Linked DNA regions of Homo sapiens: all the other regions are linked to region 1. Evidence: promoter capture Hi-C in 16 types of primary human blood cells and fetal thymus (Javierre and others, 2016). All regions are on one chromosome and are shown on one strand. The core of a region is centred on a gene start or on the middle of the fragment in contact, and the rest is flanking DNA. Distances in the headings are between cores, read along the strand shown.

Region 1 (3,223 bases), core at 80-2,579:
TCTGAAATGTCATAAAATTTTGTCACGTTTTTCAACTGAATTCAGCAAATCCTCAATGGTGGCCTACTTACACATTTACTACTGTGCTAGCAGTTGATCGCGGCTCCAATAAGATATAAACAGAAATGGAATTAATGGTACAATTTCTGCACACTTCAGGTAAGTGAAACATATATATCACCTTTCCATTCTATTTCAGAACGCGGTATCAGCGGATGCAACAAAGACCACACAGTGTAGCAACGGAGAAATGTTAGCATAAAACAGTTTTGTTTTGTTTTGTTTTTCAATTAAAAATCCTACGTCCCCAGCTGGTTAACTACACACTGCATAAAGTTTACTGTGATGACAACTGTTTCTAAAAAGCAAACCTTTCTTCCCTTCAAAGTGTCCTCCTCCGATCCTTAGGCCATGACTGATTCTAATACTTTTGATCTTAAGACACACAGTGATGACTTTTCTTTGAAAACTAGCAGGTTCGAATGTAGGCCCCAGGTGTCTGCCGTCATGCTTCCGACTCCGGGAAGTGAGGGAAGCCCATCTCCGGTCAGGGTTTACTGTAAGCAGCCCAGAGCCGGAGCACCGACGCAGAGAGACGTGGAAACAGAAAGCGAACGTACTACGGGGCCGCAGCGGGATCCCCGCGCCAGACGCCACCCCGTTAGCAACATATGGGAGAGCAGGGATGGTTCCCAGCCCCTTGACAAGCGCGGCGACGGCTCCGCGGGGCCTGGCGGCGAAGGCGAGGCGAGGCTGCGGCGACGAGGGGCGCGGCGGGCGGGCCGCCGGGGGAGCCCCGCACATTCCTCCCCGCGGCGGAGGCGCACGTGGGGTTCGAGGCCGCAGGGCCTGCAGAGGCGGCCAGAGCAGAGGGCGGCAGGTGCGGGAAAGAAAGAGGACGGGCCCCGGAGGCCGCAAGCCCGAGCAGCGGAGGACGATTCCCGGAGCGGCGGCATGCGGGTCCGCGACCCCGAGGCACCGGCAGCTCGGACAGGGTGGGGGAAGGGAGGGAGGCACCGGGACGCCTAGAGACGGCAGTGTGGGGGTCTGAAGGAGAGACCGGATGGGGGCCCCGAGGGACGCTCGCCGGCGCGGAACTCAGCTCACCGTGCCTCCGTCCTTAATGATGATCTTCTTGGCCAGCATGATACTGCGGTTCGCGGCCCGTTTCTTCTTCTTCCCCTGGGTCATTTTACCATCCTCGATTCCTGGCGCTGCTGCAGCCACTCCCGGGGCGGCAGGCCCCAGCAGCTAGTGCCGTCCCACCACTACTGCCGGGCCGAGCCGCTCTGGGCGCCCGCCGCCATCTTGAGGGCCCGGCCTGCCTCCGGCGGCGCGTCACAATCGTGCGATCAGCCGACGAGCGGGCCCCGCCCCTCCCGCGTGATACCGCCCCGCCCGCTCGCCGCCAGCCCACTCTACAGTAGCCGCGCGGCCAGGGTAACCGCGGGCTCGCGTGGGTGCTGCTGGCTACCTGTACAACTTCGTGCTCCGGCGTCACCAGCTAGCTAAATCCTCGCAACGGTTCTGGGCGATAGGGGCCGTTTTTGTCCCCCTTCTTCAGCAGATGAGGGAATTTGTTTCAAAAAGTTGTTACCTGCTCACGGAAACAGACGTCCTAAGCTATTAACACAATCTCCAGCTGTGTTCTAACCAAGACAGGAACCGAAGGGAACAGTAAAAAATCATTTTCCGTAAGTAATGGGTAACTTAAGAGATAATGTAGTGTTTCAGAAACAGTCTTGTCCTTTTGGTGTTCAGGGACCCCCGCTAGAACTCAGCTGGCTCACGCTTGTTTACCTCCCTAGACCCAGGACCTTTTTTATTCCCTGCCAAAAAAAATACCTTACCTGACCGATGTCACCCTTTGTGGCCCTCTACGTTTTTACTGTATTGTTTAAAAATAAATTTGATGGGAACATTGCTAGAAAGGGCAATTTACACAAGTGGAAGTGGACTTTAAAGTATCACAATGTTAAAATTAGATATTGATAACTACCGTGTTGTATAATAGAATATCCTTTTCCTTAAGAGAAAAACACGAGGGATAGGGATACACCGCATGCTCCCTACTCTCAGATGGTTAGGGAGTAACATGTATGTGTATGTATATGTAGGTGGGGAAAAGAGAGGGACAAAGCAAAATGGCGAATGTTTAAAAGTACTGAAACTAGGTATGGTAGTTCTAAGATATGTTCACAGATTCAATGATATTCCTCCCTGGAAGAGGTGGACTCTAATTCCCCTCCCCTTGAGTGTAGACTAGGCTTAGTGACTCTTGATAGATCAAAACAGAAGTGACAGTATTGACTTCAGAGGCTAGGTCATAAAAGGCACTGCATCTTCCTTTGCGGGTCTCTTTTTCATTCATTTTGGGGCTTGGAGCCTGGGGAAGCCTGCTTCCGTGTTTTCAGGACACTCAAGCAGCCTATGGAGAGATCCAGTTGTCCAGGAACTGTTTGTAGCCTCCTACCAAATGCCACGGAGTGAGTCACTTTGGAAGTAGATCCTCCAACCTTGGTCAAGCCTTTGGCTGACTACAACTTCATGAGAGACCCAGAGGTAGGACCACCTAGCTTAGCCACTCCTGGAATCCTGACTCAGAAACAGTGTAAGATGAAAAGTACTTGGTGTAAGCCACTAAGCTTTGGGGTTATTTGTTACACAGCTATAAATAACTAATATATAGGGTAAAAGGAAAAACAGTAAATGAATGTATGAGTTCTTTGTACTGTTTTTGCAACTTTTCTGTAAGTTTGAAATTATTTCCAAATAAAATGTTAAAAAGTAAATTTGATTGAATTTCCTTTTCCTTGTATTTTCATACTGACTAAAAATGGAAAAAAAAACTAATTTCCATGGAAGGGAGAAGAAAAGCAATTTATAGCCTGATAGATACTTCTAATTATATTTTCCAATCAATAAGTATATTCATTATACTTGTTTTGAAACATATATTCTCATTTTGAAACTTTTTTTATTATTTATTTTTTGAGACAGAGTTTTGCTCTTGTTGCCCAGGCTGCAGTGCAATAGTGCCAACTTGGCTCACTGCAACTTCCAGCTCCCAGGTTCAAGTGATTCTCCTGCCTCAGCCTCCCGAGTAGCTGGGATTACAGGTCCCCACTACCATGCCTGGCTAATTTTTTTTGTATTTTTAGTAGAGATGGAATTTCACCGTGTTGGCCAGGCTTGAACTCCTTACCTGAGGTGATGTTCCCGC
Region 2 (3,324 bases), core at 594-3,093, 210 kb before region 1:
ATTTTGGCTGTTATGCTGTTATGATTATTCCTATTCAAGTCTTTGTGTGAACACTGTTGTCATTTCTCTTATGTAGCTATCCAGGAGTGGAATTGGTGGGTCATAACTGGCCATTTTTAAATCTAAAAAAAGAGAAGAAATGGGGTCTTTGTTTCTTTCAAACTCGAATAAAAGAATTAACTAGGGAATAGATGGTGTATTTCTTTCCAGATGCTGGAATGAAAGATAAGGACACATATTATACTGAATATAGAAGCAAGAATCCATTGACATAAGAAGACGGTAAAGGAAAATAAACTAGTTATCTTCTGAGGAGCAGGTACAGTTAAAAACGAAATTAGGACAAAGAAAGTTGTATAGCAGCAGCTTGGAAGGGAGATGATTCACTTCAAAGGTACAACTGCCACTGCTTTTTATACAAACACATGCTTGTGGGATTATCAAATATATTAATAATGTCTATAAACATTTTTAAGGAAATGTAAAAACTTGAAATTCTTTTGACTACTCTAGATTTTCTGAGAAAGATAGCTATTTAGGCCGGACCCAGTGGCTCATGCCTGTAATCCTAGGACTTTGGGAGGCTGAAATGGGAAGATCGCAGTTTGAGACCAGGACTTTGAGACCAGCCTGGGCAACATAGAGAGATCCCATCTTGAACTTCTGAGCTCAAGCCATTTGCCTGCCTCAGCCTCCCAAAGTGCTGGAATTATGGGCAGGAGCCACCACGCCTGGCCCAAGAGACCCTATCTCTACCAAACAAACAAACAAACAAAAAAGATAATAAGATTTATTGTTTGCATTGATTTTTTGTGTGTAGATGTGTAATACATAAAATGGCAAATGAGGGGGAAAAGTGTTTGGGTCATATTAAACAATGAAGTTGTGAAATACCTGAGATTTTGTTTCATAACCACTAATCTTCAATGTTGAGCATTTAAAATGTATTTGTTCCAGTTTTTTTTCTCTGTAATTCCTTAGACATCTGTGCAGATTTTCATTCCCACGTAAGAAGCAATAACAGACTAATGTCATCCTGGACATTTCCAGGAATTGGTTTCCTAGTTGCTCTGAGGAAGATTGCCTTTTAAAAGAAAGCTCTGATCTGTTCTTTACCAGTTCCACTTGACCTGAATTTGACATTTCTTTAAGAGACAACTAAATCAAGATCATGTGTCTGTGACATGTATTGCATATGCTAGTTAGCTGCATCTGATAGCAGTCTGTAAAAAGAAAGATGATAACATGTTTATTTTAGACATTAGGTAATGTTCATCTTTCATGAAAAAAATTGATTAGCCAATTTTGGTAATCAAAAACATAAATGGGAGTAAAAAAGGCAGTCATTGGGAAGTACTGCTGTATGGACTTGTGAAACAACTAGTTGTCCAGAGCCTTGCTACAACGTATAGAAATATTCTATTTTCTGTATTTGGGGCGGCTACACTACAAGATGAAGACGGGGAAATGTTTTCCAACTCATCGCTCAGGTCCTACTGCAACATAACTTTCTTGAGGTAAGTACCTTTCTTTGTGTTTCCTTAACACTCTCTATTTTCCCCATCACATACACTAAAAAGATTATCTTTGGTGCATCTGTATTTACACAGCAGTGTTAAATTTGGGCTGCCCTCTGCCCCGCCTCCGTCCCCCAGGCTCTTTTCACTCCCCGCTGGGTCCCAGATCCTAGGGTTTAGCTCAGGCTCCGCCCTACTCCTTGGTTGGCTGTTGGGTGGGAGGCTCGTTTCTTCCCTCCCTATTGGTCGCCCAGGGGGAGGCGCGTTTCCCATCTCCTGATAGGCCGCGCCGAGGAGAGTCTCTCCAGTTTGCGGCACTGTTGTCATTTCCGGGGTAAGATGGCTGCAGTCCGTATGCTGAGAACCTGGAGCAGGAATGCGGGGAAGCTGGTAAGCACGTTTGGGCAGATCTGAGGCCGGGAAGGAGTGATTTGTCCGGAGTCATCCAGGAGTGGTGTTTTACTTTCTCCTCCGGTGCCAGGCGTCCAGGGCACGCGTGATGGAGAGGTGAAGGGATGCATGCAAAATAAAGGGCAGAGAACGGAGCGAGTCGACCAGTCTGGAGTGGAAACCCACTCCCTCCCCTTACCTGGAAGCGCTTCTGCAGCGACTCAGCCGTCCTGCTCCATCTGTACCCCGAGGCCCAGCTAGCGTTTTATTGAGCGCCTTCCAGGTGCCCAGGCATTGTGATAGGCGCTGTGGATCCAGAGATATATTCGTTTAGCATTTATTGCGTACCCACAGTATGCCAAACACTGGTAACACGACCCCTACCCTCAAGGAATCTACAGTGTGTAGAGGAAGAGGCCGTTCAAGTTATAGAATATCAGCAGGGGTCCCTGCTTCCGAAGAACTGAGCAGCTCGGCGTCACTCTTTTGCCTTGTACTTCTATGTCCGCACCACATATCATTCCTACCCTTTTGTCACCAAGGCTGTGACCCATCACCATCTCCCCTGCACTTCCTTCTCTTTCTCCCAGTCTTAGCACCAAGCACTGACACATACCGGTAATGATACTTGTTACCCCTATTTGCTTAGTGTTTCTTCTTCCTGCCTCTTCTCCCTTTCCCTAGATGCTCCTGCCTTGGTGACCCCGATCTTACAAAAACTTTCAAGAGCCTGCTATGTACCAGTGCTGTGTTAGGCACTGGAGATACAAATATGAAATAGACATCATATCTTCCTTCTCAAGAGATTACAACCTTGTGGTGGAGGACAAAGGAGAGGGAGACAGATAGAAATTACAACCCAGCATGAGAGGTACTGTGATGGGACAAGTGCCTAGAACTACAGGAACACACAGGAGTGGACACCTATGGTGGACTTGGGGGTCAGAGGAGTTCCCAGAGGATACTGTATGACTTGAGATGTAAGAAGGATAAGTAAGAGATAACCAGGAGAAGAGAGCTCTTCTCAGCAACACTTAACACATATTGGTCTCTCTTCTTTCTAGAGCTTTCCATTCTTGTTTTCTGTGACACCAGTTTCCCAATATTATTCTTTCTTCATCTTTGGCCACTTCATCCCAATATCCTGTTTCCCTTCCCGCCTTTTAAATATTGCTTTTTCTAAAGGGCTCTGACTTTGGCCCTCTGCACTTTTCCCACTTTCTGGGTTATCCCATCCACTCTTTGGCTTTAGTTACCATCTATGCTGATGAGTCCTAAAGTTCCCCAGTCTTCCAACCAGGTCTACTCCAAACCCATATATCCTACTGTCCTGGAAATCTCCAGTTTCATATGTACGTGATGTTTTCCAGCTGCAATTAAAAACCCAACCAATAAATAGGAAATTAAGTATCCATGC
Region 3 (3,190 bases), core at 232-2,731, 240 kb after region 1:
GGCCCAATTTCTTATAAGCTTCTTTATATCTATCTATTTATATCTCTTAGCAGTTCTGTTTCTATGGATAACCCAGACTAATACAGATTTTGATACTGAGAAGTGAGGTGCTGCTGTAACAAATGCTTAAACATGTGGAAGTTGCTTTGGAAATGGGTAATGGGTAGAGGCTGGAAGAGTTTTAAGGTGCATACTATAAATATAGATATTAAGGGTGATTCTTGTGAAGTCTCAGATGGTAACAAAGATCATGTAGGAACCTGAAGGAGAGGCAATCCTTGTTATAAAGAGGGAAATAACCTGACTGAATTGTGTTTGTGTTCTAGTGTTTTTTTGGAAAGTAGAACTGGTAAGCAATGAAACTGGAAATTTCCCTGAGAATATTTCTAAGCAAAGTGTTGAAGGAGTATCTTAGTTCCTCCTGACTGTTTATAGTAATATGTGAGAGGACAGAGATGAACTGAAGAAAGGATTGTTAAGCAACAAGGAACTAGATCTTAAATATTTGGAAAATTCAGCCTATTGATATTGCAAAAAATGCAAAAACATATTCTGAAAGGAACACCAAGGGTGTGGCTGGACTTTCACTCAATAAAGAGTTTATGATATTATAGGAGCAGAAGCACTGTCAGCTTGAACTGAGGGATGGAGGTTGGACAAAATGAAGAAAGGATATTTGACTTCTTAGATTTTGAAAGACAAGACGATAGAGCTATCTGGGTATAAACGTGCACTGTTCAAAGACAGAGAAAAATTGCCCTGAAGGCAATTCAGAGATTATCACGGTCACCATTCAGTTTTAAAAGGCCAGGTGGCCTCTGACCAAAGCTTGGGAGCCAGGACCTCTCTGCAGAGCTGTGGGGCCAAGACCACCATGTACAGCCTTAGGGGGATGACCCCCTCACCCCAACACCACCAGGCCTAGAAGGCAGAGTGTTGAAGAGGATTATTCTCCGGGCTTAAGATCTCATGGAATACCTTGTTGGGTTTTGAACTGGCTTGAAACCAACTACCTTTCCTTCTTTCCTGCTTCTTCTTTTGGAATGGGAATGTTTATTCTATGTCTGTCCCACTATTGTATTTTGGAATCAGATAACATATTTGGTTTCAAAGGTTCACAGCTGGAGAAAAATTTTGCCTCATAATGAATTACATCTCAAGTCTCGGCAATATCCAGTTTAGATGATTTTTAGAGAGACTTTAATAACAAACCTGCACATGTACCTCTGAACTTAAAACAAAAGTTAAAGAAAACCTTATTAAGTTAAGAAAAAATATTAGACTTTAAATGTTAGACTTTAGAGTTGAAACTGGAATGCGTTAAGACTTTAGGGGCACTGGTCACTTCCAAGATGGCCAAATAGGAACAGCTCTGGTCTATAGCTCCCAGCAAGATTGACAAAGCAGATGGGTGATTTCTGCATTTCCAACTGTGGTACCTGATTCATCTCATTGGGACTGGTTGGACAGTGGGTGCAGCCCATGGAAGGCAAGCTGAAGCAGGGTGGGGCATTGCCTCACCGGGGAAATGCAAGGGGTTGGGGGATTTCCCATTCCTAGCCAAGGGAAGCCGTGAGTGACTGTACCTGGAGGAGTGGTACACTTCTGCCCAAATACTGCACTTTTCCCATGGTCTTCACAACCTGCAGACCAGGAGATCCCCTCCTGTGCCTGGCTCAGCAGGTCCTATGCTCACAGAGCCTTGCTTGCTGCTAGCGCAGCAGTCTGAGATCAACCTGGGATGCCGGAGCTTGGTGGGGGGAGGGGTGTCCACCATTGCTGAGGCTTGAGTAGGTGGTTCTATGTTCACAGTGTAAACAAAGTGGCAGGGAAGCTCGAACTGGGTGGAGCCCACTGGAGCTCAGCAAGGCCTACTGCCTCTCTAGATTCCACCTATGAGGGCAGGGCATATCTGAACAAAAGGCAGCAGACAGCTTCTCCATACTTAAACATCCCTGCCTGACCATTCTGAAGAGAGCAGTTGTTCTCCCAGCACGGCATTCGAGCTGCAATAACAGACAGACTGCCTCCTCAAGTGGGTCCCTGACCCCTGTGTAGCCTGACTGGGAGACACCTCCCAGTAGGGGCTGACAGACACCTCATACAGGTGGGTGCCCCTCTGGGATGAAGCTTCCAGAGGAAGGATCAGGCAGCAATATTTGCTATTCTGCAGCCTCTGCTGGTGATACCCAGGCAAACAAGGTCTGGAGTGGACCTCCAGCAAACTCCAACAGACCTGCAACTGAGAGGCTTCTCTGTTAGAAGAAAAACCAACAAACAGAAAAGAATAGCATCAACATCAACAAAAAGGACATCTACACCAAAACCTCATCCATAGGTCACCAACATCAAAGACCAAAGGTAGATAAAACCACAAAGAGGGGAGAAACCAGAGCAGAAAGGCTGAAAATTCCAAAAACTAGAACACCTCTTCTCCTCCAAAGGAACACAACTTCTCACCAACAAGAGAACAAAACTGGTTGGAGAATGGGTTTGACGAGTTGGCAGAAGTAGGCTTCAGAAGGTCGGTTATAACAAACTTCTCTGAGCTAAAGGATCATGTTCTAACTCATTGCAAGGAAGCTAAAAACCTTGAAAAAAGGTTAGACGAATGGCTAACTGGAATAACTAGTGTAGAGAAGACCTTAAATGACCTGATAGAACTGAAAATCACAGTATGAGAACTTCGTGAAGCATACACAAGCTTCAATAGCCGAGTCGAACAAGTGGAAGAAAGGATATCAGTGATTGAAGATCAAATTAATGAAATAAAGCAAGAAGACAAGATTAGAGAAAAAAAGAGTGAAAAGAAATGAACAAAGCCTCCAAGAAATATGGGACTATGTGAAAAGACCAAATCTGTGTTTGCTTGGTGTTCCTGAAAGTGACGGGGGGAATGGAACCAAGTTAGAAAACACTTTTCAGGATATTATCTGGGAGAACTTCCCCAACCTAGCAAGGCAGGCCAACATTCAAATTCAGGAAATACAGAGAACACCACAAAGATTCTCCTTGAGAAGAGCAACCCCAAGACACATAATTGTCAGATTCACCAAGGTTGAAATGAAGGAAAAAATGTTAAGGGCAGCCAGAGAGAAAGGTTGGGTTACCCACAAAGGGAAGCCCACCAGACTAACAGCGGGTCTCTCTGCAGAAACCCTACAAGCCAGAAGAGAGTGGGGACCAATAT

What was found. The method cuts DNA at HindIII sites, captures the fragments that hold promoters and counts their contacts. A CHiCAGO score of 5 or more calls a contact.
Region 2: the fragment with the promoter of DBT here is called in contact with the fragment with the promoter of SLC71A1 in region 1 in 4 of 17 cell types (activated CD4 T cells, naive CD8 T cells, non-activated CD4 T cells and 1 more); the score reaches 7.7 in activated CD4 T cells.
Region 3: a contact is called between a fragment that was not itself captured here and the fragment with the promoter of SLC71A1 in region 1, in 1 of 17 cell types (erythroblasts). The highest score is 8.0, in erythroblasts.

The regions. Positions count from the first base shown.
Region 1 is chr1:100,036,201-100,039,423 of GRCh38, reverse strand. SLC71A1 (solute carrier family 71 member 1) reads right to left here and starts at 1,329. Exons shown (of 12, transcript NM_033055.3): 1 at 1,108-1,329. The coding sequence starts at 1,191. LOC124904230 (a long non-coding RNA gene) reads left to right here and starts at 1,416. Exons shown (of 7, transcript XR_007066251.1): 1 at 1,416-1,694. RefSeq lists silencers at 703-892, 1,353-1,532 and enhancers at 1,013-1,292, 1,255-1,857. The HindIII fragment of the contact is 6,938 bases long and covers 1-2,647 here.
Region 2 is chr1:100,248,353-100,251,676 of GRCh38, reverse strand. It overlaps DBT (dihydrolipoamide branched chain transacylase E2), which reads left to right and starts at 1,843. Exons shown (of 11, transcript NM_001918.5): 1 at 1,843-1,907. The coding sequence starts at 1,857. RefSeq lists a silencer at 1,624-1,723 and enhancers at 1,834-1,953, 1,555-2,114, 2,115-2,674. The HindIII fragment of the contact is 8,889 bases long and covers 1-3,324 here.
Region 3 is chr1:99,799,201-99,802,390 of GRCh38, reverse strand. No RefSeq gene overlaps it. Among named protein-coding and RNA genes, the nearest start is that of FRRS1, 34 kb to the right of the region's middle. The HindIII fragment of the contact is 1,302 bases long and covers 831-2,132 here.